Regions from separate parts of the Homo sapiens genome. Here all the other regions are linked to region 1. The links are contacts of gene promoters, found by promoter capture Hi-C in blood cells and fetal thymus (Javierre and others, 2016). All regions are on one chromosome and are shown on one strand. Each heading gives the region's core, a stretch centred on a gene start or on the middle of the fragment in contact. The rest is flanking DNA. Distances are from core to core; before and after follow the strand shown. Region 1 holds the start of ERP27 (endoplasmic reticulum protein 27). Region 2 holds the start of DERA (deoxyribose-phosphate aldolase). Region 3 overlaps STRAP (serine/threonine kinase receptor associated protein). Region 4 has its middle 110 kb from the start of ATF7IP. Region 5 overlaps PTPRO (protein tyrosine phosphatase receptor type O). Region 6 overlaps PTPRO (protein tyrosine phosphatase receptor type O).

The links. Contacts are between HindIII fragments. The CHiCAGO score rates a contact against its expected background, and 5 or more counts as called.
Region 2: the fragment with the promoter of DERA here is called in contact with the fragment with the promoter of ERP27 in region 1 in 5 of 17 cell types (total CD8 T cells, activated CD4 T cells, fetal thymus and 2 more); the score reaches 8.2 in total CD8 T cells.
Region 3: a contact is called between a fragment that was not itself captured here and the fragment with the promoter of ERP27 in region 1, in 5 of 17 cell types (naive CD8 T cells, total CD8 T cells, non-activated CD4 T cells and 2 more). The highest score is 9.1, in naive CD8 T cells.
Region 4: a fragment that was not itself captured here is called in contact with the fragment with the promoter of ERP27 in region 1 in 6 of 17 cell types (activated CD4 T cells, naive CD8 T cells, total CD8 T cells and 3 more); the score reaches 8.6 in activated CD4 T cells.
Region 5: a contact is called between a fragment that was not itself captured here and the fragment with the promoter of ERP27 in region 1, in 2 of 17 cell types (non-activated CD4 T cells and activated CD4 T cells). The highest score is 5.9, in non-activated CD4 T cells.
Region 6: a contact is called between a fragment that was not itself captured here and the fragment with the promoter of ERP27 in region 1, in 5 of 17 cell types (non-activated CD4 T cells, total CD4 T cells, naive CD4 T cells and 2 more). The highest score is 10.1, in non-activated CD4 T cells.

Annotation. Positions count from the first base shown.
Region 1 is chr12:14,935,330-14,940,532 of GRCh38, reverse strand. It overlaps ERP27 (endoplasmic reticulum protein 27), which reads left to right and starts at 1,996. Exons shown (of 7, transcript NM_152321.4): 1 at 1,996-2,118; 2 at 2,481-2,581. The coding sequence starts at 2,025. RefSeq lists an enhancer at 2,481-2,540. The HindIII fragment of the contact is 1,334 bases long and covers 891-2,224 here.
Region 2 is chr12:15,909,291-15,914,493 of GRCh38, reverse strand. It overlaps DERA (deoxyribose-phosphate aldolase), which reads right to left and starts at 3,162. Exons shown (of 9, transcript NM_015954.4): 1 at 3,080-3,162. The coding sequence starts at 3,110. RefSeq lists enhancers at 1,984-2,727, 2,728-3,472 and silencers at 2,875-3,224, 3,245-3,304. The HindIII fragment of the contact is 2,953 bases long and covers 2,878-5,203 here.
Region 3 is chr12:15,886,250-15,891,452 of GRCh38, reverse strand. STRAP (serine/threonine kinase receptor associated protein) reads right to left here. Exons shown (of 10, transcript NM_007178.4): 3 at 1,444-1,525; 4 at 784-856. Among named protein-coding and RNA genes, the nearest start is that of STRAP, 6.5 kb to the right of the region's middle. The HindIII fragment of the contact is 606 bases long and covers 2,319-2,924 here.
Region 4 is chr12:14,251,047-14,256,249 of GRCh38, reverse strand. It overlaps the pseudogene GNAI2P1. Among named protein-coding and RNA genes, the nearest start is that of ATF7IP, 110 kb to the left of the region's middle. The HindIII fragment of the contact is 4,306 bases long and covers 297-4,602 here.
Region 5 is chr12:15,556,231-15,561,433 of GRCh38, reverse strand. PTPRO (protein tyrosine phosphatase receptor type O) reads right to left here. Exons shown (of 27, transcript NM_030667.3): 16 at 3,911-3,979; 17 at 1,158-1,241. Among named protein-coding and RNA genes, the nearest start is that of EPS8, 230 kb to the left of the region's middle. The HindIII fragment of the contact is 2,175 bases long and covers 1,716-3,890 here.
Region 6 is chr12:15,535,371-15,540,573 of GRCh38, reverse strand. All of the region lies in intron 12 of PTPRO (protein tyrosine phosphatase receptor type O), which reads right to left. It overlaps LOC105369672 (a long non-coding RNA gene), which reads left to right. Exons shown (of 3, transcript XR_002957403.2): 3 at 1-686. Among named protein-coding and RNA genes, the nearest start is that of PTPRO, 220 kb to the right of the region's middle. RefSeq lists an enhancer at 4,412-5,203. The HindIII fragment of the contact is 6,409 bases long and covers 1-5,203 here.

The sequences.
Region 1 (5,203 bases), core at 747-3,246:
TGGTGAAAGATGAGGGTGCAGTTTCATTCTTCTGCATATGGCTAGCCAGCTATCACAGCACCATTTATTGAGTAGGGAATCCTTTCCCCATTGATTGGTTTTGTTAACTTTGTCGAAGATCAGATGGTTGTAGGTATATGACTTTATTTCTGGGTTCTCTATTCTGTTCCATTGGTCTATGTGTTTGCTTTTGTACCAGTACCATGCTATTTTGGTTACTGTAGCCTTGTAGTATAGTTTGAAGTTGGGTAATGTGACGCCTCTGTTTTTGTTCTTTTTGATTAGGATTGCTTTAGCTAGTCAGACTCTTTTTTGGTTCCATATAAATTTTAGAATAGTTTCTTTTCTAATTCTGTGAAGAATGACGTTGGTAGTTAGATAGGAATAGCACTGAATCTGTTAATTTCTTTGGGCAGTATGGCCATTTTGAAGATACTGATTCTTCCTACCCATGAGCATGGAGTGTTTTTTCATTTGTGTCACCTCTGATTTCTTTCAAAAGTGTTTTGTATTTCTCCTTGTAGAGATATTTTACCTCCTTGGTTATCTGTATTCCTAGGCATTTCATTTTATTTGTAGCTATTGTAAATGAAATTGTGTTCTTGATTTTACTCTCAGCCTGGACATTATTGCTGTATAGAAATGCCACTAATTTTTGTACACTTATTTTTTTCCTGATACCTTACTGAAATCATTCATCAGTTCCAGTAGCCTTTTGGCAGAGTCTTCAGAGCTTTCTAGGCATACAATCATATTGTCAACAAGGAGAAATAGTTTGACTTTTTCTTTTCCTGTTTAGATGCCTTTTATGTCTTCCTCTTGCCTAATTGCCCTGGCTAGGGCTTCCTAATTTCTTTTGTAATATTTTCACATGAAAATTCTCCTAAGCTTAAAACTACATATCCCAATGCCTGTGGAAATCTCATCTTGGACTTCCTCAGACACTTGTGAGCAAAATCAAACTTCATCTCATTCTTCTGCTTAAGACTTTTCAGTGGTTCCCATCACCTACAGAATAAAATTGATGCTCCCGCGCTTAGTGTATCATATAAAGCCTGCTGTGAGCTGGTCCCAACATGCCTTTCTGTCCACATGTATCACTTCCTTCCTTTTCATCATTCTCAATTACTAGTAATTCTGTCACACATTATATTTGCATATCTGTGCTTTGGTTCTTTTTTTTTTTTTTTTTTTTTTTTGAGACGGAGTCTCGCTCTGTCGCCCAGGCTGGAGTGCAGTGGTGCTATTTCGGCTCACTGCAAGCTCTGCCTCCCGGGTTCAGGCCATCCTCCTGCCTCAGCCTCCCGAGTAGCTGGGACTACAGGCGCCCGCCACCACACCTGGCTAATTTTTTGTATTTTTAGTAGAGATGGGGTTTCACCATGTTAGCCAGGATGGTCTCAATCTCCTGACCTCGTGATCCACCTGCCTCAGCCTCCCAAAGTTCTGGGATTACAGGTATGAGCCACCACGCCCGGCCTGTGCTTTAGTTCTTTACATGAAACTCCCTTTCTACCTTGTGTTGCCTGGCAAAATCTTACTTACCCAGAACTCTGCTCCGGCATCCTCCGCAGGAAGAACACTTTCATTGAACCCTAGCATTGTCCCTAATACCCTTAATATGTATTGTCATAGCACCCTATGAATTTTTCTATATCACTTTCCATCTTATATTTAAATAATCTTTTTACTTGCCCATCTCTCCCACTGATAATCTAAGCTGGCAGAGGCTGGATCAGATCATAATTATCTTTCTATTCTTAGCGCTAGGATCAATGCCTGGCATAGCATATTTACATTTTTTATTTAAATAAACTGACCTGACTTTCTTCTGGTTGGATATGTTCTGAGTCCCTATTACTAACCTTGGTCTTTTATCTCAGAAGTTGAAGGCTCCCCTGGAGCCAGCTGCAAAGTTCCCAAAGCCCTAACAACCCCACAGCCAATCAGCTACAGAGTAGGCTGCCCTGAGTCGGCCTCCCCAACACAAAGTCCAGGGTTGGAGCAGGAGCAGGAGAGGGACAATGGAAGCTGCCCCGTCCAGGTTCATGTTCCTCTTATTTCTCCTCACGTGTGAGCTGGCTGCAGAAGTTGCTGCAGAAGTTGAGAAATCCTCAGGTAAAAGAAAAATGTAGTTGGGTGGCTATAGTGTGAAAGTGTTATTAGGAGAAGGAAAGGGAGCATGGTGGTTCTCTGGGTACTTTTCCTCCACACCTAGAAAGCTTTCCAGGAAATCCTGGATAAGTGCATTTTGCCTGGTAGAGAGTAGGGAAGTCTGGCAGTATCCTTCAGAGACAGACCATCAGTAGGGTCACCTTCCATATGTTAGTAAAAATATTATGCCTTGGAATGCCAACAGTACTCCTATAAATTGTGCTCTTCTTGCCCTTAGTATAGAGATAAAAGGTATAGATGCCCTCATTATTTAGAGCTGCTTCTTCTTGCCTCAGTACCCTGACATCTTCTGCTTCTCTCTCTAGATGGTCCTGGTGCTGCCCAGGAACCCACGTGGCTCACAGATGTCCCAGCTGCCATGGAATTCATTGCTGCCACTGAGGTGGCTGTCATAGGCTTCTTCCAGGTTAGTTCCCTACTTGCAATTCCCCCAAGAGCCAGAAATGTTCTACCTTAAGGGAACCACAGCAGCCACCTGCTGCTGGCAGATGGCACTGCATTAGAAGTGGGGGTAAAGGGAGACAGCCACCCAGTTTGATTTCATCTTGTCCATTGGGACCTCTTATTTTCAAGACATTCCCAGTCTCTAAATTATATCTTTCTCATACTTACTTCAAGAGTTCTGAGCCTGTGGGCTGCATCTCCTCATCTATGGATGCTTTGAAGCTCAAGTCAGTATCTGCAGAAAGAATGCCTTCATGGAACCCCACCATTGTCCTAAACACATTTGGTCTATACTCTCATAGCACCCTATGAATAGGCAGGGGCCAGAGTGAACCCAATTTATATCATCCAGCAACACTGTTTACAGGATGCCAAACATCCTGGACATTAGTCAGTGCACAGCCTTTTAAAGCCTTTCCCCCAAATATGGTAGACTCTCCTTCTTTCTCTTTGCCTTGTCTGAAATGTTGGAAAATGATGGCATTTTGTATATTCAAGGTGTTAACCTCCATCTTCCAGATTAGCTTCTTGACTAAGAAAGGCAGCCATAAATGAGACTGCCTCATTCCAGCATTTTCATCTTTCTCTGGTGGTAGCATCTGGAAATCCTCACAGCTGATCAAGCCCCTACTCTCTCATAGCAGACCTTCTTGTCTGTTTCCATTTCTCAGTTACAACTCCTGATTACCCTGTCAGTTCTGCGTACACAGTTGGAAATCACTGCAATGAGATGCAAGTCAGGGAGAAAGACAGGGACAACATTTTTCAGGAATGAGAAATCTGAGCTGTAGACAAAAACACCGTCAGAAAGATGGGGAAGGGGCAAGAGCATGGAATTGGAGGAGTGTGCAATAACTTAAACAGCCGCCAGATGCCATCATTTTATCCTCCAGCAATTCCATCTGAAGGAGCAGAATAAGAGAGGAGGCCTCAATTAATTATTGTTCATGGCCTCTAGAAGAGTAGATACCAGCTCCCTCTGCTTGACCCCAGATGCAAGACGGGTATGTTAGTTTCTTCTCATGCTGCCAATAAAGACATACCCAAAACTGGATAATTTATAAAGGAAAGAGTTTTAATTGAATCACAGTTCAGCATAGCTTGGAAGGCCTGAGGAAATTTACAATCATGGCAGAAGGAACCTCTTCACAGGATGGCAGGAGAGAGAATGAGCACAAGCAGGGGAATGCCAGACGCTTAAAAAACCATCAGATCTTGTGACTCATGCACTATCACGAGAACAGCATGGGGGAAACTGCCCCCATGATCCCATTACTGCCACCTGGTCCCACCCTTGACATGTGGGGATTATGGGGATTACATTTAAAGATGAGATTTTAGGTAAGGACACAGCCAAACCATATCAACTGGCCATCTTCTTTTCTCCTTGCACATCTCCTCCTTCAGCCTGGGGACTTGCAGGGTAGAACATGTTTGTTCCTGTTAATTTCCTGGAGCTGCTATGGATAAAGGTCCCGTGAGAGCAGGGAAAATGATGCCAGCGTCTATGGAAGGCCTGGAATCACTGTTCGCAAGTGGCTTCTCTGCTGCCTCCTGCAGGCCTGGGCTGCAGAGTTGAATGCGTGAACAGCATCTTCATGTGCAAAGCTCAGGTTTATCTACAGTGGCAAGAGAGGGACTGTCCTTCCATAACCTGCATAAACTTTTGTTAAAACTTCTAAGCTTTCATTTTAATTGTTTTATTTTTCTTCTTTTTTTCTTTTTTGGCCCTTTTGATGGCGTCTATTTCATATTTTTGCATTTTTTCCTTTCATCCACAAATGTAACCAAAGCCAAAACTCAAGAGGAAGAGCCGGTGGGAGGAAAAGCCAGTTTATTTGAAGATCCAGTAAACCAAGAAGACAGCGGACTAGCATCCTAAAGTACATCTTGGCCGGGCACAGTGACTCACACCTGTAATTCTAGCACTTTGGGAGCCTGAGGGAGGTGGATTGCCTGAGCTCAGGAGTTCAAGGCTGGCCTGGGCAACATGGCAAAACCACATCTCTACTAAAAATACAGAAAAAATTAGCCAAGTATGGTGGTGAACACCTGTAGTCCCAGCTACTCAGGAGGCTGTGGCACAAGTATCCGTGAGGCAGAGGTTGCAGTGACCCAAAATTTTGCCACTGCACTCTAGCCTGGGTGACAGAGCAAGACTCTGTGTCAAAATAAATAAACAAAGTACATCTTAAGCCACTACCAATTTTAGGTTCTTTGTATGTTAAGGGCAGGGTGAAGAGGAGGGAGTTGGGATCAAGTGATAACCGGCAACCACAGGCATCTGGGCCCCAGCAAGTGTCTCAGGAAGTTGGGAACTTCTTTGTCCTTGGTCAGGTCACAAGGCACCTATAAATCTGTAGCACTACATAGTTAGTTGTTTACATACTTTTCCTTTAATCCCAGAGTTAGTTTTAAAAACTATATAACTCCTATTTTTGCCTATTATCTCAGTGCTCTAAAATTATTCTAACCTACATGCAGGAATGAGTAAATAAATGCCCTTTAAACAAAAATAGAGTTGGTTATGTTAGTTTGTTTGCTATTTCACCGTTAAACAAATTGTTCCCAGAAGAGTTGCTTC
Region 2 (5,203 bases), core at 1,913-4,412, 970 kb before region 1:
ACACGGGGACCAGGTAGATTCCCCAGTTCCCCCAAGTAAGAAGCAGCTCTCAATTCATTCCTTCATTCAACAGACTTTTTCTTTTTTTTTTTTTTTTTTTATCTTTTTTGAGACACAGTCTGTCTCCAGTCTGTTGCCCAATGGAGTGCAGTGGCACAATTCCAGCTCACTGCAACCTCCACTCTCTGGGTTCAAGCGATTCTCGTACCTCAGCTTCCCAAGTAGCTGGGACTACAGGCATGCGCCACTATGCCCAGCTAATTTTTGTATTTTTAGTAGAGATAGGGTTTTGCCATGTTGGCCAGGCTGGTCTCCAACTTCTGATCTCAAGTGATCCGGCTGCCTTGAGCCTCCCAAAGTGCCAGGACTATAGGCATGAGCCACCATGCCCAGCCTCAAGACATTTTTGAGGGCCTTCTGTGTACCAAACACTATTCTAGGTACTTGGGACACATCAGTGAACAAAAGAAAGATCACTACCCACGTGACACCTGCATTTTAGGCAATAGTTAAGTGGCATCTAATAAAATAGAAGAATATCTGTACATTTTAATAGACTATATAGGGCATAATAGTCTAGGTACAAAACTTGATAGTACCTTGGAGATCATTAAGCCATTGGTTCTCAAACTTGGGTATGCTTCAGTACTACCCACAGGATTTGTTAAAACTCAGAATGCTGGGCCCCATCCTCTAATATGAAAGCTAGAGGGTACATTCCCTATTTGGAAAACATCTTTCATACATCCAAATGCCAATGTTTTCCTTAAAGACTTTTTAATCATGAGGGTCAGGTTTAGTCTCAAAGGAACTCAATGTTTTTTTAAGTCCATGAACTAGAAGTACATACACCAAATCATAAATAACAGTGATTGGACTAGTAATAATATTACAACATTTTTGTGCTAACTGTATTTTCTAGAATTTTTACAATAACCATGAATTCCTTTTGTAATAAGAAAAGGGAAGCAAAAATGTTAATTTATTTTAGAAATTAGTTACGATGTTTATTAAAAAGACTTTCAATTAGAAAACTATTTTAAAAATCATCAGTTAATATACTGCATAAATTAATACTGAAAGATTTTTTTCCCTAGTACCTAATTCAAATAACTTATTTTAGCATTTCAGTTTAAACCTGTTTGGATTAAGGATTAATACCCGTGAAGGAAAAAAATCTGATTTTAACAAATAAGATAATAAATACAAAGCTATGATCATTTCGATAGCTGCATAAAAACCACATTTACTATTGTTCTACCTGGCAATTATTTATGTCTATTACTTTTCAACAAATGAATGGAAGTGATTGATTCTAATTACTGCAAATAAATAAATTTAAAAATGGTTCAATTATGTTTTTTGAAAGAAAAATTTAAAATGTCTAAGTTTTGGGAAATTTAGGGCACATCCTTGATGTATGCATAGTCACATGGTCATATTCCTGGGAATACCCAGGTAAGACACCACCCCAAACCTGCCCCATATCCACCACCTTCAAGGATATTCCAATCTAAGAAATAATGCCGTTATTACTAAAGACCACGTTCCAGAGATAGGACTAGAGTTTAAAACATAATCAGCTAGAGGACAGTGACTAAAACAAAATCAACCAGGTTAGTAAATCAACTGTCTTTAAAATGATAGATTTACTCTCTTACCATTCGACAAAAAATCCAGAACACCTCTTGGAAGTGCAGACTGTTTAAGTACCAGTCACTTTTAAGGAGGGCGAAAAGGACCTACCTGTATGTGTTACATATAATTTACAGCCAATTTTCTCAAAATTAGCCCCTAAAACCATAACTCCATATACTAATACTATCTATACTGAAGACTTACTAGGTGTCCACAATATACCAAACTACTTTACATGTATCCTATTTAATCTCCTAACGGCCTTATAAGGTAACTACCACTAAAATAACCATTTTACAGATGAAGAAACTTAAGCGCAAAGTTATTAATTTGTCCGAAGTCACACAGGTAAGAAGTTAAAGATCCTGGATACACAGATATCCAAGCTATAATACTTAAACGAGACGCTTAAACCTTCTCTTGATCATGGTTTTGCTGTTTGAATTATAAATTTTTCACATGTTAAGAAATCTGAAGAAAAATTCTCTTCTGCCTTGGGATCCTGTTGATCTGTGACCTTATCCCCAACCCTGTGCTCTCTGAAACATGTGCTGTGTCCACTCAGGGTTAAATGGATTAAGGGCGGTGCAAGATGTGCTTTGTTAAACAGATGCTTGAAGGCAGCATGCTCGTTAAGAGTCATCACCACTCCCTAATCTTAAGTACCCAGGGACACAAACACTGCGGAAGGCCGCAGGGTCCTCTGCCTAGGAAAACCAGAGACCTTTGTTCACTTGTTTATCAGCTGACCTTCCCTCCACTACTGTCCTATGACCCTGCCAAATCCCCCTCTGCGAGAAACACCCAAGAATGATCAATAAAAAAAAAAAAAAAAGAAATCTGAACTAAGGTTTCTTGCCAGTATTTGAACAATATAAAAAAAGATGAAAACTGGGAAATAATACAGGTACTTTAACAAATCTTTGTAACTCTAAAATCCCATGAATCTGCAGTGTTACATTTTGAGCACAGACGGCTGACAACTTTTCCACGAGCACGGCCACTTCAAGGTTACGGTTAAAATTATCTACGGAAATACTGCATTAAATTACACAAGTATTCTATTAAAAGGAGGAGAAAGAAGGTTTTTATCTGTTTTTACCTGCTTGGGGGTTGTTTGTTTTGGGTTTTGTTTTTTGGGTTGTTGGGTTTTCCAACCAGCGAGCTAGAGTGAACGAAAAGGCAGGAAGATAATAATCTAACCCTTTCCTACTCCTTCCGCATACAAGAGTAAAAGCTTAGGTGCAAAGACAAGCGGCGCGAACGTGCCGGGTTCGGCCTTTACTTGGGGTGAGGGCTGACCAGACGCCACTGCTTCCCGCCCCAGCGAAAACCCCTCGGGGACCCACAGCCAGGGCACTGGGCGGCAGCAGGCCCCGCGCTAGTCCCGGCGGCGCTGAACGCGAGGGAGAGGGGATGGGGAGCCCCGCGGGCCCCTTACCGAGCTCGGTGCCCCGATTGTGCGCGGACATGGCGCGGGCAGCTCCGGAGCTGCCGGCTGGTAGGCGCCCGCCTCTGCGCCGCGCCCGGCCCTTCCTCCTTCCCGCCAGCTGGAGCGCTCGCCCCGCCCCTGCCCGCTCCCGGGGCGGAGTCGCGGGCCCGGGCTACGAGGTCTGTACCCTAGGAATATTGCTCCGCAAGGAAATCTCGCTGCTCCCCTCCCCCGTCTTCTCCACGAGGTACCGAACCGGAGCGCTAAGTAGCTCCCGGAAATAATGCTACCAACACCCTTTAAAAAATACTGAAGTTGCCAATTGCACGTAATAAAAATATTCCTAGAAACTTTTAACTGTAAGATTATATAACAAGAAGGAAGAAGATCCAAGTGCAGAGCTCTGCAACTTAAGGTCTGAAATGTCAGCAGGGATCCCATATCCTTGTTAGGGAAACCAAGGTGCAATCAAGGGCCCCGGGGCACACTGACTTTTCTAATCTACACATCATGAAAAGAAGCAGCTATGTGGCCTGAAGAAGGCAAGGGCTTAGGAGTCAGAAGACCTGGTTTCTTAGCCAAGCTCGGGCAATAATTAAATGTGTGACCCTGGGCAAATTAACTGCTTTTCCGAGCTTCATTTTTCTCATCTGTAAAAGAAGACCTTGACAATTTCTTGGTTCTTCAAAATACTATGATTCTATAAAGGTAAAATGCTTCAGCCTGATTTCTCTGTGACCAAGAGGTTAAAATCGTCGAGTCACTCCACAATCTCAATATAGTTAACTTATCTGTACTCACGTTTAGAGGCACCTCTGCTATGAAAACAGTACAGTTAGTTATGATTTGTCTACCATGAGCCAGTTATTGTGCTAGGTGCTTTCATACATCATATATAGATGTATGATAGCATTTGAGTCTCTGAACAATCCTGCCAATAATGTATTTTATCTCCATTGCTGTAACTTTAGACATCAAAGTTCTGAATAGAAAGGCATCCTGGTATAGGGGAAATACAGTGAGCTCAAAATGAGCTGAACCCATTAATATACCAGCTCTTCCATTTAATAAATGTAACTTGGCAGTTCTGGAAATAATAGTCTGTCTACTTACCTGTAAAGTGGAGATGATCAAAATATGTTCACCTTGCAAAGCTGTTGAATGTATGCAAGGCACCTAGTACATAACATGGCATACAGTAGATACTTAAAAAATGGAAGCTGTTAATGTTATTGTCAAGTTCACACAGTAATTACTGAGCTGTTTTAAATAGGAATAGTAATATTTGTATACTCCTCTACATTGAGCTTTCAGCCTTGTCCACACACAGCCACTGTTGAATGTTTCGGATGTGTGTAGATCTTACTCATACATACTATAGCACTTTTCTTTTTTATATTAACCTTGAAAAAGAGAAAAGCAGGCCCTGAAAGCCTGGAGCTGGCCTGAAACTCACAACTGGACCATGGTTTTCCCTGGTTAAACGTATACAATTTCACAGCACAGCATCAGCCAAGGCCATTGTGACCACAATGAATCAACAAAAACATAATCATAATCATGTCTGATAATAGAAAACCATGAATATTGTTCAAATAGCCCCTATCCTAGCTATTATGACTTCTTTACCAATCAGTTCTAGCTTCACTCCATTCCTATGTTTTAGATAAGAATTAAGATGCACTACTATCACCAGTTCCTACCATCATCCAGTCCAGATCCTTCCTTGAACTTTCCCCAAATCACCTACGACAGGCCCAAATCCTATGTAGTTTCTAACATCCTCTTACTGAGACACCTCACATTAGGTGCCCATGGCAAGCATTCTCCCTTGTTACAATGTCAATAAACACAACTTTGTCCACTTGTAGGTGTGTTACTGGTGGTCTCTGGCTGGAGATCATTCACATCTCTAGAAGATACAAAGGCAATACATGAAATTCTATTTTTAGAAGTAAACACAACTCCAAACCAGATTCCATACCATTCATTACATAAATGTTTGTTTGTTTGTTTTTAAATTGTGATATCCTAAATTAGTTGAAAAATCAGAATTAGGGCAGCCTCTTAAAGCAATGTTTTAGCAATGTATCAGTCAAGAATTTCTCAAGGACTTTTTCTAAAATGGACCTG
Region 3 (5,203 bases), core at 1,372-3,871, 950 kb before region 1:
AGTCATTACAAACAGTTCATAGACTATTTAGTGAAATGAAAAAACTGTAACTGCAGATTTTTTAAAATTCTTTCGAATAGCTAATATATTTACATGGTTCAAAAATCTAAGCAATATGTGCACACAACTGAGAATTCTCACCATCACCAACTTCTATAAATAACCAATCTTTCTTACCAAAAAATAGTAACACTGTTCTGCACTGTTTTAAAACTTAATGATAAAAATTTGCCATAATAAATTTTCAGTTTGGAAGAAGGTTATACAATAGCAACATAGCAAATAAACTTATTTTTTAAAAACTGTGCAGAAAAAAAGACTGAAAGTTTATAAACCAAAAACTGATGAATTACGTTTTAATTTTCTTCTTTGTTGACTATTTTTTTTTTTTTGAAACTGAGTTTCACTCTTATTGCCCAGGCTGGAGTGCAGTGGCGCAATCTCGGCTCACTGCAACCTCCACCTCCCGGGTTCAAGCGATTCTCCTGCCTCAGCCTCCCAAGTAGCTGGGATTACAAGCGCCTGCCACCATGCCTGGCTAATTTTTCTATTTTTAATAGAGACGGGGTTTTGCCATGTTGGCCAGGCTGGTCTCGAACTCCTGACCTCAAGTGATCCACCCGCCTCAGTCTCCCAAAGTGCTAGGATTACAGGTATGAGCCACCGTGCCCGGCCATGACTATCTTTATTTTCCAAATTTGAGTACTGAGCATGAAATTCTTTAATCAGTTATTTAAATTAAAAGAAAATAAAACTAGAAGCTGATGTTTAAATTATGCTTACCTGCTTCAGGTTTGTTCAAGTCATATATGCGTAACAGTTTATCCTGTCCCCCGGTTAACAAATAATTACTATCCTGAAAACACAAAGTAAAATGTGAATAGATTAACCATTTTAATAGTTATTTCTCTTTCAAATTTCAACACCAAATAAAATCAAAATCTAGCTCACAGACATCACAAAGAGATGCCAAGACATAACCAATTACTTCTGAGAAGATACTGTGGAACAGCTGACCTCTCATAACTGCCAAGACTTGTAAGCTTTCCACTTCAAAAGCGTTACACTACACTACATATACATGAACTCTCCCATTCTCCCCTGATCCTACTCCTCTCCCTTGTGAGAGGCCCTTTTCTGATTATCTCAAATTTATCTTCTCCCTTCTATTAGTAGTTGGGGAAGGCTACTTGAGCTTTTCAGATGTTTTTTACATGTTGAAGGACTGGTACTCGTTCCACAGTATCTTAAAAGCTTGACAGGATTAACTATGAAACAAATTCATAGAGCTTAATACACAATCAAATCAAATATGAACCAAGAAATAACAAATATTCCACACAAAACATATCAATCAAATATACACACCAATCAAGTATAAAAGCATTATCACACTATGTACCAGCAACTTAACTCGCTAAAATAAATTCCATTTTCTGATACCTGCGTGAAATCCACAGTCTTGACAATGTGTTTATGAGCCAGGGTCATCAATTCATCTCCTGAGACAGCATCCCACACTTTGCTAAAAGTAAAAAAGAGAAAATTAGTAGGATAAATATTACCCAATATATTAAAAGGATAAATACAATTATAATATTGATGAGTACCAAATAAGTTAGATATGTGAAATGTTACATAAATGTATTATAAATCTCCTTTATCTCTAATATCCCTCACAGACTTCATTTGATAAAATATTTAAATAAGCTTAAGGGAAAAGAAATTTCTCTGTAAAAACTTTATAACCAATCTAATTTTCTTTGACAGTGGAAAAGATATGAACAATTTAAGCAAGTAAGATTCATGAACCAACCCATCCTCCTTACTTTTATTTTAGCTGACAGCCATAATATCCCTTTAGCAAGCCTGTCATACATTTTAACCAATTTTTAGTTTCACCATGCCAATTTTTTCTCTATTCTCCACTCAGATGCACAATAAAAAATAAAAATAAATAAAAAAACCAGAAATCCTTAAAAATGTTACAAGGGAATGAAAAGCCTTGGTACAGGCTAAGTAAAATTTTAAATTAAGATAGTGGAGAGACAATGTCCACTTCATCTCTTCTTCAAAGCTGACTTAAAATTTCAAACTCTAGTACAGTTAACTTCCCCCAAACTATCAGCCTTTGATTATATAATGCTAACACTGACTATTTTAATCTTTACATTGTTTTTTCTGTCCCACCCCACCCCAAAATACAAGTTGGTTATAGGTATACATACATTTATATGTGTATGTATATTCTGGGCGGGTAATAGTTGAGCAATACTTTACAAAATTACTCTAAAAGGGTTCCCCCAAATAAAAAAGCTTAAGGAAGGGGGAAAAAAAAGTTGATTTTAGATCAGAACAGGTCAGTGAAAAATAAACAAGAAAACTTTGCAGACAGGGAAAAGAATTGCTAAGAGTGAAAAAGCTATGTTCCATAGAGATTTCCATTTTAATGCAACTGCTATTTATTTTCAGGAACACAGTGGGCAATAAAATGGTAGAGGGAAAAAAATCAGAGAAAAGCAAGATGTATCTTTTCTTTTGCTTACCCCAATACATAATAAAATATATTAAATATATATCATTCTATACTTAGTGCTAAGGCACAAATGGGAGACAAAAAATACCCCACAGTAGGTTCTTGCCATAGTAGAGCTTTAGCTGAGGAGAAAAACATGCATTAAATATCACATTTAAGAAATATAATTAAAAGACATATATATGGCTATAAAAACTCAGAAAAAAGCACCTAGATATTGTCCAGAAAATGTAAGTAACAGAGCTAGCCGTCGGAAGAAGCAAAGAGAAATATATCAGGGGAAAAAGAAGGGAAGGCTATTCTAGATAAGCATTAATAGCATGTGCAATGTGGTTAATGAATATGAAAGACCATCTAACAGGAATGCTCATGATACACTACCAAAGCTTGCAATATTTAATAATGTGGGTCATGTGAGTGGCTGAATAAATATGTTCTGAAAGAAATAATGTCAACTATAAGTAGCCTTGCTGCTAAACTCCCTAGTATTCATTTCTCTTTGCCCAGGAAACTTGCTCCTCTCTCTGTCATTCCAATGCAACTCTCTGGCCCCAATCTACTTTCCCAACCTCATTTTGTATTGTTTCTCTGAATCTAGCAACACTAGATTATAAACCACTCCTCAAATAACTTACGTATTTTCTTCCAGGCTCCTATGTTCTTGTTTATATTATTCTCTTAAGTCTGTATTTTACATTCTTAGCTATTAAAGTTCTACTCACCCTTAGGGCTCATTTCAAATGCTATCTTTTCTTTGAAACTATTTATCCTCAACTCCAATAATTAACCATTCCTTTCTGTTCTCCCACAGAACTCCACTTATTACGGTGCTTAAATTTGCTTTGTTTTTTGTTTACATATATCCTTAATCACAGTGAAATGCATTTCATGGTTGTGGTAAGGGTTCACAAGTATTAGAATGACAGAAAGCATCAAAAGTGAAGAAAACAACAAATGTATCTAAAATTACTATTCTAATTATTCACAAGTCTCCAAAGAAACCCGGGCAATGTCCTTTGATATGCTAATTTCAAGTTTATTAAATAATCTCCCATAAACTTAAAACCTCTCTCTCTTTTTTTTTTTGAGACAGGATCTTGGTATATTGCCCAAGCTATACTTGAACTCCTGGCCTCAAGATCCTTCCACCTCAGCCTCCTAAGTAGCTACAGGCTAACGCCAACATGGCAGCTCTAAAATCTTAAGATTCTGCTTAGACTGTGTCTATTCAAAGGTGAGAAGAGAGTTGGAGTGACCAAAGTAGTAATATTAACCAGAGAGGTAATGTGTCTGTAGTTTTTCCTCCTATTTAGAAACAGTACTAAAATAGAGGCATGACATTTTCTGACAGGGCATGTACTAACTCTGGCAGATTTCCATTATTCACAGTAAGAGCCCTAAAATGGATCTAATCTAAATGTTTCCTAATGTATTATTCAATCTCCAGGCAAGAAATTGACATATATTAGTTGGCCACAGGGCTCAAATCAAGACAGTAAAGCGCTATTAACAATACCCTTTCAGCAGCTAACCCTCCAACATTTTCTTCACATCCCACGAAGTACTTGTCATCTCCTTAAACTACTGTTACCTCTTATACCCCAGTTTCTTGCAAATAATAATGCTGCCTGATACTTTCCATATCCTCAGAATGAACTTACCGTAAGTCTCATAATAGGAGCTGCTTAACTTACTTATTTAAACCTTCAACAAAACAGGCCAGTTTAAGATTTTTAAAAAATTGCCCAAATACCTTAACATGTTGACCAAGTCATCTAGGAGATAATACCATTTTCGATTTATCAAGAACCTTATTAAAACTAAAATTAGATATTTCTATTGGCTTTACAAGAAAGAAAGAGTGATACATTGTGATTACCTATAAATTCCTGGACCCAATCCCAGATCTACTTAAGCCCTCTTGGGAGCACAGCACAGAATTGTCTTTACTTTGGCACTCTTCCCAAATAGATACAAAGAGATGGTGTTTTAGGGACACTGTACTCAACACTGGACTCAATTGCCCGAATTACTCCAAGATAACATTCTACACTAGTCCACAGACCTATTCTGCTAAATTTCTCCACAAGAAACGGGACCAAATTCCACTTCTAAATGACCACACCATAAATGAGTTTTCCAAGAAACGTAAGAATGGAGGGAAAAAAAAATTGTTTCTAAAAATGCTTTATACCAACCATGACTAATCAGGTAGGCTGTGGGGAGTAACTTCTTGGAGAGAATACACACACACACAAACACGCACATGAAAACACGCTCCTACACCCCACAGACAAGACATAGAGGAAATGAGGGATAAATCTCAACTAGCATTTATTGAGCACCTACTATGTGACAGAGATCATATTGGACTTCAGGGATATATGGTGGAGAAAGATCTCTCTGTTCCTCCAATAATCTCATGGGTCTTAGTCCCATTTTACAGATATGAAAGCCGACATTTAAGAAACATCCTGCCATGGTGGGCAGATCGCTTGAGCCCAAGAGTTCAAGACCAACCTGGACAACATGGTGAAGCCCATCTCTACAAAAAACACAAAGATTAGCCAAGCATGGTAGTACACGCCTGTGGTCACTATTCAGGAGGCTGAGGTTGGAGAACTGCTTGAGACTGGGAGATAGAGGCTGCAGTGAGCTATGATCACG
Region 4 (5,203 bases), core at 1,200-3,699, 680 kb after region 1:
AAAGGACGTGAATTCATCAGTTGAATTTGTTTTTGTGAGATTTAAGAGTCATCAGTTATTGTGGGAAGGCACACAGTATATGCTACACGGGATTTTCCAAAATGTTCAGTATCAAAGGGGATTCAAGAAGGGTAGAGGTCAAGCCATCCAAACTGGCCCTCTGATTCTTAGAGATGCTTTTATTTTAGGATCTTTGCATTTTTCACTCCACCTTGAAATCTCCACCCTCCCCCCCCACCCCTTATTCCTCTCTCCTTTCACTGTCCTCTGAGTTCCTCCTACCCTCTGGTCAAGCTTTGCCTTCCTCAGAGGCCTTCCTGAATGCTTGGTCCAAAGTAAATTCCTTATACCTTCTTATCATCTTACATGGCAACCTCTTTTTTTCTGTTGTAGCACCACTGTAACTTACAATTATATATATTTGTTTTCTTGTACATTGGCTCTCCCCCTTCACCCGCAACTAGCTTTCTAAGTACCCTTGGGCCGTGTCTGTCTGATCAAAACTGTATAACAAGCATAGGACCTGGCAAAATGTTAGCAAGGAGCAAATATTTGTTGAACAGATTAATTAAATTCAAATATTATTTCTCTGGTCCCAGTCCACTACTTTCTGGCTTCTTCTTTTATACCAGTTAGTTCTTTTACGATTCAGTCTGTTTTCTTACTCTTGTGAACTTTCAGGAACAACTGATTTATTTCAGGGTTCCTCTTTACATAATGAGAGCTACTGAGTAGAATAGAATCTTCACAGCTTCTGGGGGGTACCAGAAAGATGCCCAGAAAGGGGGTACCATGGCCATTACTGGCACCTCAGACAAGGGCAGGCTTCAAACAGGGAGGCCTGTGGCAACCCCTCCCCTATGTCTGAAGCTGAGGGGATGGGGGAGCTAAGAACAAAGGAAAGAAGAGAAAAGTGTCCAGGGAACAGGTGGGGACCATGGTCTTCTTGCCCCATCTTCCTCAGGGGTTGGGGGGTACAGAGTTGGTGGTGGCCCATCCTGCTAGGTCCCACTGCCCCTCAGAAGAGGCCCCAGTCCTTCAGGTTGTTCTTGATGATGACGTCGGTGATGGCATCAAACACGAACTACGTTCTTGGTATCGGTGGCGCATGTGAAGTGTGTGTAGATCTCCTTGGTGTCTTTGTGCTTATTCAGGTCCTCAGACTTACTCTGGTTGTAGCTGGCTGCCTCATCATACTTGTTGGACCCTGTGTACTCAGGGAAGCAGATGGTCAGGGGCTGTGTGTGATCTTCTCCTCCAACAGCTCCTTCTTGTTGAGGAAGTAGATGATGGACGTGTTTGTGAACCACTTGTTGCAGATGCTGTCAAACAGCTTTTATCCCCTAAGAAAAGACACACTAGTCTTATAATTCTTACCGTCTGTGTTTTCTCATCTGTAGTACTTGATTTTACTCTGAGATGGAATTCAACTTGGGTTTTGGTTTCTGAGTCTGGAGTCATGCACATGGTTTTCCCCCTTCCATCTTTATCAAAACTGTCCCTATCACCAGAGGGAAAGGATTTACCAATTCCTCCTTTAAAAGAGTATCCTGGCGGCCAGGCCTGGTGGATCATGCCTGTAATTCCAGCACTTTGGGAGGCCGAGGTGGGTGGATCACCCGAAGGTCAGGAGTTCGAGACCAGCCTGGCCAACATGGAGAAACCCTCATCTCTACTAAAAATACAAAAATTAGCCAGGGGTGGTGACGGGCGCCTGTAATCTCAGCTACTCGGGAGGCTGAGACAGGAGAATTGCTTGAACCCGGGAGGTAGAGGTTGCAGTGAGCTGAGATCATGCCATTGCACTCCAGCCTGGGCAACAAGATTGAAACTTCGTGTCACACACACACACACACACACACACACAACGGGCATGGTGGCTCACGCCTGTAATCCCAGCACTTTGAGAGGCCAAGGTGGGCCGATCATGAGGTCAGGAGATTGAGACCATCCTGGCTAACACAGTGAAACCTCACCTCTACTAAAAATACAAAAACTTAGCTGGGTGTGGTGGCATGCACCTGTAGTCCCAGCTACTAGGAGGCTGACGCAGGAGAATTGCTTGAACCCAAGAGGTGGAGGTTGCGGTGAGCCGAGATCGCGCCACTGCACTCCACACTCCAGCCTGGGTGACAGAGCGAGACTCTGTCCCAAAAAAAAAAAAAAAAAAAAAATGGATCCTAGCTGGGCGAGGTGGCTCACGCCTGTAATCCCAGCACTTTGGGAGGCTGAGGTGGGTGGATCGCTTGAGGTCAGGAGTTTGAGACCAGCCTGGCCAACATGGCAAAACCCCGTCTCTACTAAAAATATAAAAATTAGCTGGGCATGGTGGTGGGTGCCTGTAATCTGAGCTACTAGGGAGGGGATACAGGAGAATCGCTTGAACCCGGCAGGCAGAGGTTGCACTAAGCTGGGATCGTGCCACTGCAGTCCAGCCTGGGTGACAGAGCAAGACTCAGTCTCAAAAAAAAAAAAAAAGATTCTACTCCTGGCCAGGGACTCATCCAAGCAGAAGTCTAATGCCACAGAATTTCAAGTAGGCAATTTGCATCTCTGAAAACCTTCAGATGAGAGAGAGAGAGAGGGGCCACCAATTCACTGGATTTCAGCCCAACACAAGAGTAATGTCTTTGGGGCTTTTTTTTTTTTTGAGACAGGGTCTCACTCTGTCACTGATGCTAGCTAGAGTGCAGTGGCCTGATCCTGGCTCCCTGCAGCCTTGACTTCTGGGCTCAAGTGATCCTCTCACCTCAGCCTCCAGAGTAGCTGGGACTATAGGCATGCACCATCACACTTGGTTATTTTTTTCTATTTTTCTTTTTTTTTTTGAGACAGAGTCTCACTTTGTTGCCCAGGCTGGAGTGCAGTGGTGCAATCTCTGGTCACTGTAACCTCCACCTCCCTGGTTCAAGCGATTCTCCTGCCTCAGACTCCCTAGTAGCTGGGATTACAGGTGCCTACCACCAAGCCTGGCTAATTTTTGTATGTTTAGTAGAGATGGGCTTTCGCCATGTTGACCAGGCTGGTCTTGAACTCCTGACCTCAAATGATCCACCCGCCTGGGCCTCCCAAAGTGCTGGGATTACAGGCATGAGCCACCATGCCTGGCCTATTTATTTTTTTATTTTTTCACAGAGACAGGGTCTCTCTGTGTTGCTCTGGCTGCCCTCAAACTCCTGGCTTCAAGTGACTCCTACCTCTGCCTCCCAGTGAGGTGGGATCACAGGCATGAGCCACTGTGCCCTGCCTGGAGCATTTCTTCACCTAAGCAAATTAGCTGTTCTAAAAGCTGTGCTAGGTGTTGGAGGACATTTGAAGCACAGCTTTATTGTGTATTTATTGCAAGGTTTTGATTGACTCGTTGTGAAACTGGTAGGATTTCCCTAACTGACTACAAAATTCTGTGACTTTCACTTCTTTTTTTTTTTTTTTTTTTTTTTGGGATGGAGTTTCGCTCCTGTTGCCCAGGCTGGAGTGCAATGGCACGATCTCAGCTCACCACAACCTCCGCCTCTGGCGTTCAAGAGATTCTCCTGCCTCAGCCTCCCGAGTAGCTGGGATTACAGGCATGCGTCACCACACCCGGCTAATTTGTGTTTTTAGTAGAGACAGTTTCTCCATGTTGGCCAGGCTAGTCTCGAACTCCTAACCTCAGGTGATCTGCCCACCTCAGCCTCCCAAAGTGCTGGGATTACAGGCGTGAGCCACCACGCCCGGCTGACTTTCACTTCTTTTAACTGGTTCAGGGTAATCAATAGTTGAGAGACCGAATATTGAGGTCAGAAAAACTCAAAGCTCTGAAGCCGTGGTTTCCTCATCTATTTTGTTTTTTCATCTATAAAAATATCTCTATAAAGTTGTAATAATCATTATAAGAGCAATTACATAGCAATACTTTGTGCCAGTTTACTGTTATGATATATATGTATATATAGTATGTATAAACCACATTGTATATATAAACTGTTTTCCTCATAGCCACCCTTTGGAGAAGGTACAATTGTTCCCATTTTATTTTTATTTTTTATAGTTAGGATCTCTGTCTGTTGCTCAGGCTGGAGTATAGTGGTGCAGTCATAGCTCACTGTGGCCTTGAACTCCTGGGCTCAAGTGATCTTCCTGCCTCAGCCTCCAGAGTAGCTCAGACTGCAGGCTTGTACCACTGCTTCTGGCTAATTTTTAGATTTTTAGTAGAGAGGAAGTCTTGCTATGTTGCCTAGGCTGGTTTTGAACTCCTGGACTCAAGTGATCCTCTCGCCTCAGCCTCCCAAAGTGCTGGGATTACAGGCGTGAGCCCCTGTGCCTGGCCCATTGTTCCCATTTTCTGCTGGGGACAAGGAAACACAGAGAAGTTAGGTAACTTGCCCAAGGTCACACAGCTAGTAGAAGGCAGAACACAAACACAAACCCAGGATGCTTGAGTCTCTACTTTAAAAATCCTAGTGCTAATTACCTGGCACAAGATAAGTGTTGTTAAATCTTAGTTTCTTTTTATATCCTCCCTTGAACTTTCACGAAAAATGGTTATTCCTTCTTCAAAGTATCTTAATACAAAATTAACCCCCTGCCTTTTCAGATGAGGAAACGGAACTCCAGAAAGCTTGAACCATGTGTTTTGTGTGGCCAGATAGGACTAGATCCTAGCTCTCCTGCCTAATCTGGGAAGGAATAATGGTTCTCCATATTATTGTGTTCCATCTACTTCCTTCCTTAAGTATGGTTTTGTTCTTGTTATTTTTGTACCATTTTTGAAAAGAAAGGAAAATAATTTCCTTCCTGAATCTCACTCTTATCTCCAAATTGTTTTCTGCAATTAAATAACACTCGCCGTGCTGACAGAGGCATAACTAAATGGAATGTGCTGCTTTTCTACCAGAGTGCACAAAGGGAGTGAGCAAGAGTCTATCACTGCCAAAGTGAGGAGAGGAAGACTAGTTGGCATTCATTTTCTTTCTCTCTTTTCCATCTTCATCCCTTCCCTCCTTGTTTCTGCCTCCAGCTCTCTTTTCCCTTACCTGGATTAGGAGTATGGGACTATTGCTGGTGTCACCCTAATAAAAATTCAAAGATAGGTTAATAAGAGATAGTGCCCAGAGATGGGTAGTAAGCTAGGGTGTCAGTAGCTGCTGCCTGGTCTCTTTTTTTTGAGACAGGGCCTCACTCTGTCACTCAGGCTGGATGGTAGTGGCGCTATTAAGGCTCA
Region 5 (5,203 bases), core at 1,554-4,053, 620 kb before region 1:
TAACAATCTCTATTTTGAGGAAATCCTTTTTTATGTTCCTTCCAGTGCAACTTGAAATCCTAAATTCTGCCAGCTGTATTTATTCTGTCCTTGGAGGAGCTGGAGAACATTTGGTCAATTGTCTTTTTGAATAAATAAATGCTCCAGATTGCTTTTCATACCCGCACCACCACCCCATAAGCTATTTTTTTTCCAGTCTATGAGATATTTTTATTGTTTTCTTCTGAGACCTTTTCAAGTTGTCCACATTTATGGATCTGTCTGTACATAATTTAGTACCTAAACACTAGGTATTAATATTTAAGGACAATGATTTTCTTGTCAGTTCCCCTGGAAACTGCTACCTTTTATCTTATAGCACAGGAAAAGAAAGAGTTCTTAATTCTTTAGTCTCAGAATTCAAGGTTACTGTTATCATTACATATTAAAAAGTCAAAAGGAACACTTCAAGATTTGATTATTAAAATGATCCAGAAGTTAAGAAAATAAGAAATTAAAGGAGTCTGCTCTTTACAGAGGAAAGAATAGATTTCAGAGAGACCTGAGTTTGGAACCTGGATTCTGTACATAGTGGAATGTGCTACTAAGACAGTAAATCTCCGTAAGCCCCTATTTCCACATTTCTAAAATGGGACTAGTAATACTCTCTGCAGGATTGCGGGGGAAAATTAAATCAGATAATCATACAAAGAGGCTTGCGTATAGTCAGCTGTTTAATAGTCACTGAGTTAGCATTATTATAAAAACAAGGAGGCCTCAGATACAGAGGATTGTATAGACTCTGATTTCTCCATCTTAATGCATTTCTACCTTCTTGGAAATTTGGAGCTCTCTAATGGATGAAGATGATAATGGAAAATGGAAAGCATTATTTGCAAAGATGAGAGGCCAATGGATTGACTCAATGAAGAAACAAATAACTAGTACTAAATGGGAAAAAACGCTTGCCAACAACATCACGGAAAAAAATTTAACGGAAAACCTTATAGTTAATATCTTTGTACCGGTAACTGCTTTAATTCACTTCAATACATGATTAATAACTTTAGATGTTACTGAACATACAAAATAGTTAAAAAGAAACTTTCCTTTTTGTTTACTTCTTGAAAGCTAACTTTTAAAGAGTTTGTGTTAAACAGTAAAAAAAAATCACTTACCAAGGATTAATATAAAATGCCAAAAGATAATCAGTCCAAAGACATGAGGGTAGCAGGGTTAAGAAAGCAAATATACTCCTACGCCTGTGTGCATTAATAGACAACAGATGGAAAGATGAAAAAGTTGCAAGAGTTAGTAATATAAACTGTGAATAGATATCAGTAAATTACCTATTGGGATTAATTAATATGACAAGCACCTTAATTACAATTAAATATTAATCCATTCTGTGAAATATAAATGTGCGGGCTTAAATGCTACAATATTGACAAAATCAGTTTTTATTCACACATGACCTTATTGTAATCAGATATATTTCTTTCAACTTACTTTGTGTTAATTAGTCTGCTACCAGGTGATTACATTTTGCATTCAGTTAAATGAAGCACTTATATGCCTCATTAGTTATCTTGAAGCTTATTCTTGGATATTATTCTTCCTATGCTTAAGCCTATTTTAAGAAACCTCTGTAACATCATTTGACAGCTAAACAGCAGCTTGTGTGAGAAAATAAAAATGGTCAGTTTACATATACTGATTCCGGTGAAGACTAAGCTTTTAAGAGACATTCTTAATAAAGCTGCACTACTAGGTGTGACTTTCTGTATTGTTTTTAAATTACTATAAAATTTATAAATATAACCCTTAAAACAGAGGTATGGATGATACAAGGATATCATTCATTCAAGATAAGTAGCTCATCAACTACTTAGTCTGTGACCTCACTGATATTCAGCTAAGTAGGAGCAAAATAGTTTAGCTTCACTTCAATTCTAATTCAGACTGTTGATTTAAATGCCTGGTTTCAGATATTCAAACCACTTGTCAAATAGAACACCCATTAATATAGATTTTAAAATATCCTGTGACTGCATCTATAGTTATTCTGAGAATTAGGGGGAAAAATACTGTCACCTTGTCACTTCAGTTATTACAAATCTTCACTGAGATATCTATTCTCAGTCAGCTAGAAAATGCTAGAGTCGGCAAAACTGTCTTTGTGAAGAGCTGCAAAATGTGCTTGATTTTATAGAAAGATCCTGAAGTGAATTCTTTTTTGCTTCAGCTCTCCCATGACTGGTCTCCCATAAATTCCATGAATTGTGACTGGCTGTGAAGTTAGTTAATATCTATCTCTCATGAGTCACAAGTATTAAATACATATAATTGGATTGGTTCCTAGATGGGCCACTCATCACTGATCTCCCATTGGGCCTCCCAAGGGTGAACCAGGCATGAAACAAGTATCAGTGAGTCAACCTCTTAATTTTGGAAAGAGTGCTAATATATTTGAACAAACCTAGTAACGTTTCCTAACTTTTCACCATCAAGGGTTGATGGATTTCTTTTTCTTCACAGTTGGGTTGTTTTTTAATAGCAAAATTCTACTCATGTTAAAATTTTTAAATGGCACAACATATTGCCTTATTAAAAGAAATCTGGTTTCAACTAGATTTTCAACTAGAGTGAGTATCAGCTACACTGAGGGAAGTAAAATTTATATCCTAAATAAAGTTCTCCCTCCCTCATTGATTCTGTAAAATTTCCAGTCTCCCATGTGTATTTCTTTAAGATTAACCATTTTAGGGAGTTAGTAAACAGAAAGAAATAACTGAACAATGATTAATATGACATATATTCATTTACATATACTTTGCATAGTTTCTTGCAAAAGAAACAAACTAGACCATGTAAGTAGTACATGTTAGCTTCATGTTAAATGTTTACTTAATTAGTACTTTTGTTGGGCATTGATTGAACTGGATAGGATTGTTAATCTTCATCTATCATTGTCAGGTATAATGTCAACCAATTTAATCTCTTGACAATGCTCTTTAAAATTCGAACACTTCCTCCTTCCGGGTCCTTAATACTCAAGCATAAAGAAAAATGAAGCCATGTTTTCTTATGAAACTTCACTGGCTTTGATATTTATTTATCTGTAAGCATGAGAACTGAATACTGGGCTGTACAACTTTTTAACAGAAGTGGTGGCTCTTATTGCCTCAGGCACTGAAATGTGAGTTTAAAATGGAGATGCTGGGTTGGCATGGGGGCTCAGGCCTGTAATCCCAGCACTTTGGGAGGCCGAGGTGGGAGGATCACTTCAGCCCAGGAGTTCGAGACCAGCCTGGGCAATATAGTGAGACCTCATCTCTACAAATATCTAAAAATTAGCCAGATTTGGTGGTGCGCGCCTGTAGTCCCAGCTACTCGGGAGGCTGAGGTGGAAAGATTACTTGAGCCCAGGAGGCAGAGATTGCAGTGAGTTGAGATCATCCTGCACTCCAGCCCGGGTGACGAAAGAGGGAGATTCTGTCTCCTCAAAAAATACAAAACAATAAAAAATAAAATAAAATAAAATATAAAATAAAATGGAGAAGCCGATCTGTCGCAAGCTGCTTCATTGGAATCTCTTCTCGTGCCTTTAGCCACCACTTGTTCAGCGGCGCTCCTGCATTTAAGCCCTTTTTCAGCACAGGTATGGGCTCCTGCGTGTGCACCACTGTTTCAGTCCCTTGTTTAGTATTGTAAATACAGAGCAGACCATGATGCTTTCCCTACTTCAGAACTGCACTGAGCTTATATAAACCATTATATTCTGTGAAGATCTAGCCATTGAAAGTCTACCATCACCGAAATTACAAAAGGATAATCAGACAAAACTATCCCCAAAGGATAGTAAAATCGACTTTGGAGCACACACAGCATAGTTAAACTATGTAGAAGCTTGTTCCAAAACAATACTCACCAGTTGTATGGAAGCTTTCCATCCCTCTCTAAGGATGCAAAATTGACAAATGTACCAGCTCCACACTCCCTGTTTTAAAGGAACCACAAAATCAAGGTTACTGCTTGACAAAGCATTCTTACGTTGACCTAAAAGTAAAGAGAGTCTTTACCAGCTTATCATCACAGCATTAAATTAAAAAAAAGAAGAAGCTAGGCCAGGTGCGGTGGCTCACGCCTGTAATCCCAGTACTTTGGGAGGCCGAGGTGGGCGGATCACCTGAGGTCAGGAGTTTCGCCAACATGGCGAAACCCTGTCTCTACTAAAACTACAAAAATTAGCTAGGCGTGGTGGCACTTGCCTGTAATCCCAGCTACTCGGGAGGCTGAGGCAAGATAATTGCTTGAACCTGGGAGACAGAGGTTGTGGTGAGCAGAGATCGCGCCACCGCACTCCAGCCTGGGTGACAGAGCAAGACTCTGTCTCAAAAAGAAAAAGAAAAAAAAAAAAAACAAAATAAAAGAAGCTAATAGAAGTTCCATATGTTCCCTTTTGGCATACAATGCAAAACAGAAAGCTAAAACGAAAAGAAATAATCTTTTGCAAGTTTGCAAATCAAATTATTTGAGGCCAAAAGAATTCACTTCACAATCCTTTCCAAAGGGCATTCATGATTCTAAAAGAAATATTTGAACTATTTGGGGTATAATATTTATTTATTTTTTTACAAAGCCTTTAATAGTAACATAGAAACTCTCCTAGATGAACTGAGCATTTTCCATCTTTAGCAAAAATTCTTTGTAGGGTTTTGTTTATGGCATTTTGATTTCCTCCCTACAATGATAGTGGATCAAGTGGATTGTTTACTTCCTCCAAAATCTTTCTCTTATATTGTGATGCCCGTATTATTCATCACTGGAGATTAGAATAAAAGAGTGGAATGTATTGAAATAGGCAAGCTTCTGGTGTGCCTACTGTCCGGAATGTGGCCTATTAATCTGCTAGTAAAAACACTGTTGAAGTTTTTTTTTTTTTTCCAGAAGTAGAGAAAAAGTAAACATATTCTCATGCCTTCTCTATCTTTTGGCTAATTTCATGCATGAATAACAGCTCATTGGGGCTCATGTATCTCATTTTTTCTTTATACGGAATTAATGGATTTAATACTCAGAACTGAAGCAGAGATTTTAACATTACTGGCACAATGTGCTAATTACTTGAATTATCTACCTGTTCTTATTAAGGTGTTCCAAGAACAATTTTCTTCTTTTGAAAAATACACTAATATAATATCATAGTGTATTATAATTTACA
Region 6 (5,203 bases), core at 1,536-4,035, 600 kb before region 1:
TAATGTGACTCATTAATTTAGCTGCCTAGAGAATGATGTTTATGAGGCCAAGATTATATCCATAAGGACCAGCGTGGTGAGTCATTTTACAAATGTGCAACATTGGTAATAAGGAAAATTAAGTAGAAAAGTATTGTTAAAATTATCTTAATCCATGATCCACATAACAACATTTATTTTCAATCTTTAGCCTCACTGATAACAGTTTTTTAGAATGCTCTTCATATGCAAAGCATAAATGTTAACATCTATATTGTCATAAGTCTTTTAAATTTATTTTTATTTTCCTCAACTCAAGCAACTCTATGTTAAGCAGCGTAAGTCATATAGTATATTCGACTTGGCCAAAGGAAGCATCTGCAATGTAAGCAGTGTGGACTGCAGAAACTATGCTCAAGTTGGTGAAATAACATCTGCAAAAGAAAGCACTGTCTGAAAGGAAAATAAACAAGAGGTATAGAAATTATTCAGGGTGAGTTAAGATTGATATGCAATGAAATTAAGGAGAGAAATATTTACATTAAACAGCAGAAGTCTTTGTTAGACCTGAAGTTTATTAGACCTTGTCTTGTTGACTTAGGGAAATTCTTTTCCTAGATACATTTAACAAGTAATTTGAACATTTAAAAAAAAAACCAGGAAATAAAAAAAAAAATTCAGGCAAATATTTAGCACCTGAAAACACATTAAATTATGAGGCCTTTTTCCTATATATAAAAATAAAATTTTCTCAGGAGTTAGAAATGTCTGTCATTTGCATTACTTTTTAACTATATTCTTTTTTTTTTTTTTTTTTTTTTTTTTTTTTTTTTGAGACAGAGTCTCAGTCTGTCACCCAGACTGGAGTGCAGCGGCGCAATCTCAGCTCACAGCGACCTCCGCCTCCCGGGTTCAAAAAATTCTCCTGCCTCAGCCTCCTGAGCAGCTGGAATTACAGGTACCTACGACTACACCCAGCTAATTTTTGTAGTTTTAGTAGAAACAGGGTTTCACCATGTTGCGCAGGCTGGTCTCGAACTCCCGGCCTCAAGTGATCTGCCCGCCTCGGCCTCCCAAAGTGCTGGGATTACAGGCAGTGAGCCACTGTGCCCAGCCTTACCTATATTCTTTAAGGCTTAGAGATAGCAAGTATAATATCTTCTTCTGTGAATCACTAGATGGGTTGATAGTTTTAGTACCTTAAGTAACTTCTAAAGATCAATAGAGTTTTTCAGAGAAAGCTCCCATTTAACATTACTTTCTTTTTTTTAAATTTTTAAAAATTTGCATATGTTTATGGGATACTAGTGTAATTTCGTTACATGCATAGATTGCATAGTGGTGAAATCAGGTCTTTCAGGGTATTCATTACCCACATAACATACATTGTACCTACTAAATAATTTCTCATCATCCACCCACTTCCCACCCCCTCACCCTTCTGATTCTCTTCACTTAGTTTCAAAACAAATATCTGAATACCTCCTTTTCAGTGGTTCCAGGAGCATGTGCTTTTACTTAGCATTTTTATTTTGTTAGGAGTCATATATTGCAAAATTCTTAGAATAAGATCAGCACTTTCATTGCATCATTAATCTTGCTGCTTTTATTCTGAACTCAGGTATGGAATGAAATTCTAAAAGTTGAAGGAGCATAAAAGATCATCTAGCCCAGACTCATTTTATAGATAGGAAGCTGGAATTCAGAGGGTCTGAGTTACTTTGCTATGGTAACACAATTTGTTTGTGAGGGCAAGAACTGGGATCCACACCTCTGGACTCCTAATCAAGGGTCCTTATTACACCTGTTTTCCTCCCAATCAGCGAGTTACCCAGTCAGTTGCATATAAGTGGGGATGACCAGGCCTCCAGAAAAATTCCTTTGCTTAGAAGACCAACTTTTCCAGAGTGGGCACTTGCTTGTGTATTTAGGTCAATGCCAGACTTCACAGTCATTGCCCTATGTGTCCCTCCTTCAGATTCTTCCAATACATTGGAGAGAATCATGTACCTGCAGAATATGCAGTACCTTATGATGGGCAGGAGAAATGCCTTTAGAGAAGTGCTAAAGTGGGCCGGGCGCGGTGGCTCACGCCTGTAATCCCAGCACTATGGGAGGCACTTGCGGGCAGATCAAGAGGTCAGGAGTTCGGGACCAGCCTGACCAAAATGGTGAAACCCCATCTCTACTAAAAATACAAAAATTAGCCAGGCGTGGTGGTGCGCACCTGTAATCCCAGCTACTTGGGAGGCTGAGGCAGGAGAATCGCTTGAACCTGGGAGGCAGAGGTTGCAGTGAGCAGAGACTGCACTCCAGCCTGGATGACAGAGTAAGACTCTGTCTCAAAAAAAAAAAGAAGCACTAAAGTGGTTTGGTATGCCTCTGGGCAGTTGACAAACCATGGTGACACTCAGAAGACTGCAGTGAGGAGGGGTATATTGAGGCGAGGGATTGGTTAGTGTCAGGCCCAGGTACAGAGCCATGGGACTGTGGCATGGCTGTCACTGAGAACCTAAATCAGAAAACAATGCTTGCATGGGGCTGCTGGCCATGGAGGTATATATCAGAAGAGTAGCATGGCAGGTATTGCCCCCTGCAAACCTAAAGAACATGCATGTGTTTATCTTACAAGAAGTCAATCAGAAGAAACCATCCACAAGCGGCTATCATGATCTTCACTCTGCTCACTATCCCATTAATGCCCATACTGTCTGTTTGTCTGTCATTGTCTTCCTGAAGATATATCCAGACCCAATCCTTCCACTGGATCCCCGGGTTCCATCTCCTCTGCTCCAGTCAAGGACATCACACCAAGTCTCACCTCTAACTATGCTGCATCAACAGTTTTCTCTGTTTTGTTGGATCATTTTGCTTAGTCTACAGACAAGCTGTTTTCACTCACTTAAAGAAAACAAAATAAAAACAAAAAACTACCAAAAATTCTTGGATTCTTCTATTCTTTAGCTCCTGTGCATTTTAGATTTTTTTTTCCCGTCACCATGGCACCCAAATGCCTCTTCTCAAAATCACCAGTGACTTCTGGGCTGCTAAGATCAGTGGTCAATTCTCATTCCTCATCTTACCAGATTTGTTCACAGGTTTGACCTGGACAATCTCCACTCGCTGAGGCTTTCTCTTCCCTTGGCTCCTGGGACAGGACACTTTTCTGTGCTCTTTCTTGCTTCCCTGGCCAATGCTCCTCAGTCTCTTTTGCTGGTTTTTACTCACCATCTCCATGTCTTAAAGTTGGAGTGGCCCAGGGCTTAGTTCCTGGATAGCATTATTTTTTCTTTATTGAGTCTTTGTTAACTCATCACATCTGTCGCCTGCCTACACTCAAATTTATATTTTTAGTCCTGAAGTCTTCACTGAATCCAAGCTCCTTTATCTAACTGCCTGCTCAGTATTTATTTAATGGTTTCATAGGAACCTTCAAAATGTTGACCCACCCAGACCTGAACTTCTGACATTGCCCCAAACCAGCCTGTCCCATAATCTTTTCCAAGTTAATAAATCAAACCTCTGTCTTTCCAATTGCTCAGGCCGCAAATCTTGCTGTGTCTCTAGGCTGCTTTTACTCATTCATAGACAACATCTAAGTCCATCAGCAGATTTTCTCAGCAACACCTTCAAAATAAATTTTGAATCTGACCACTTTTCATCGCCTCTGTGGCTCCCAGTCTGACCTAAACAAGTATAATCTCTTATCTGGACAGACTCAGTGTTCTCTAAACTTTAAGGTGACCATGTAATTTATCAAAAATGTCCACACGGGAACACTTTTGGGGCAGAAAAGCCTTGCCCCAAATCCTAAAGAGGATTACTGCCTTTTAAATAATCCATAAGAGTTGCAAAGTGGTATTGTCTAAGGCAACAGGGATGTATGGTCATATTACCTAATTGGCTCCTTCCTGCTCTTATCCTTGCCCTGAACAATCTATTATCACCAGAGTGACCCAGTGAAACCCGTTAGGTTATGCGCCTCTGCTTAAAGCATGCAATGGAGAATCATCTCACTCACAGGAAAGTGTCTTTTCAATGACCCTACACGGTCTGTTCCCTTGCTACCTCTCTGCCCTGTATCTATGGCTCTCTACCTTGTTTGTTCCATTGCAGCCACACTGCCTGCCTGACTTTTCCTTGAACTTGCCAGGAACACTATGCTTCCATAGCTGGGCACCTGTGGTTCCTTCTGCCTACAGAATCTCATCCCAGTGATCTCTTTGGTTTACTCCCTCATCTCCTTTAGGCTCTGACTCAAACATCACCTTCACAGTGACACTTACTCTACTCCTCACAAAAATTGCACCCATCCCCCACAGCACTTCCTATCCTCTTTTCCTCTTTCACTTTTCTCCATGACACTTATCACCATTTAACATTCTTATATTTATGTTTATCATCTCCTTTTCTCCATTAGAATGAGGGTTGACATTTTTGTCAGTTTTGTTCATTTCTGTATGCTCAGAACCAAGAATAGTGTGTGGCATATAGTAAATGCTAAGTAAATATTCTCTGATTCACAGGATGAATAATTTTTTAAAAAAGTATAAGACCTTAAGCATTTTATTAGCTTCTTTCTAGCTGACTGGCAGCCTACAGATTTCTATGTATCTATAACCATATTTGAGAGAGACAGAGAGAAAAAGCCTACTATCCCCCAAATACTTAACATTTCAAAGTATTTTGATTTTTTTCTTGTCCATAGCCAAATTATGTTTTAAAGATTTCTAATCTCTATAAAGGTTTGTATGAGTAAGATTAAGAAAATCAAGCCAATGTCCCTAAGACCAAATTCCAAAGAGGAACGGAAAGTCACAAAAGTGGGTATGAGGCTCCTCCCTGTTCTGTTAAATTTTTTAATAGAAAAAATGAAGTTTGAAGGAAAAAGGCCACACCCCAGTCCAGGAATAGAAGCAGCAGATGGATAAAAAGTACGAAATGACTGTTTCTGGACCAAGACCTAGCAATGTATAAAGCGTGTCACATTTCTCTAAGCGCCAGCTTGTTCAAATGAGGACATAGCACTGAATTATCTCCAAAAGCTCTCCTAGCACTAAAGTTATATGATTCCTTATCTCGAACGTGCCCGAACATGTCTGTGGTCAGGATAAAGCATAAGTTTGATGATGGTGGTGTGCAATTCTGTTTTTGTTTTGTTTTGTTTTGTTTTCTCTGACCTCCTTAGCTGTTCCTTTCCACTCTCTCTTTCTGATGCTTCCTG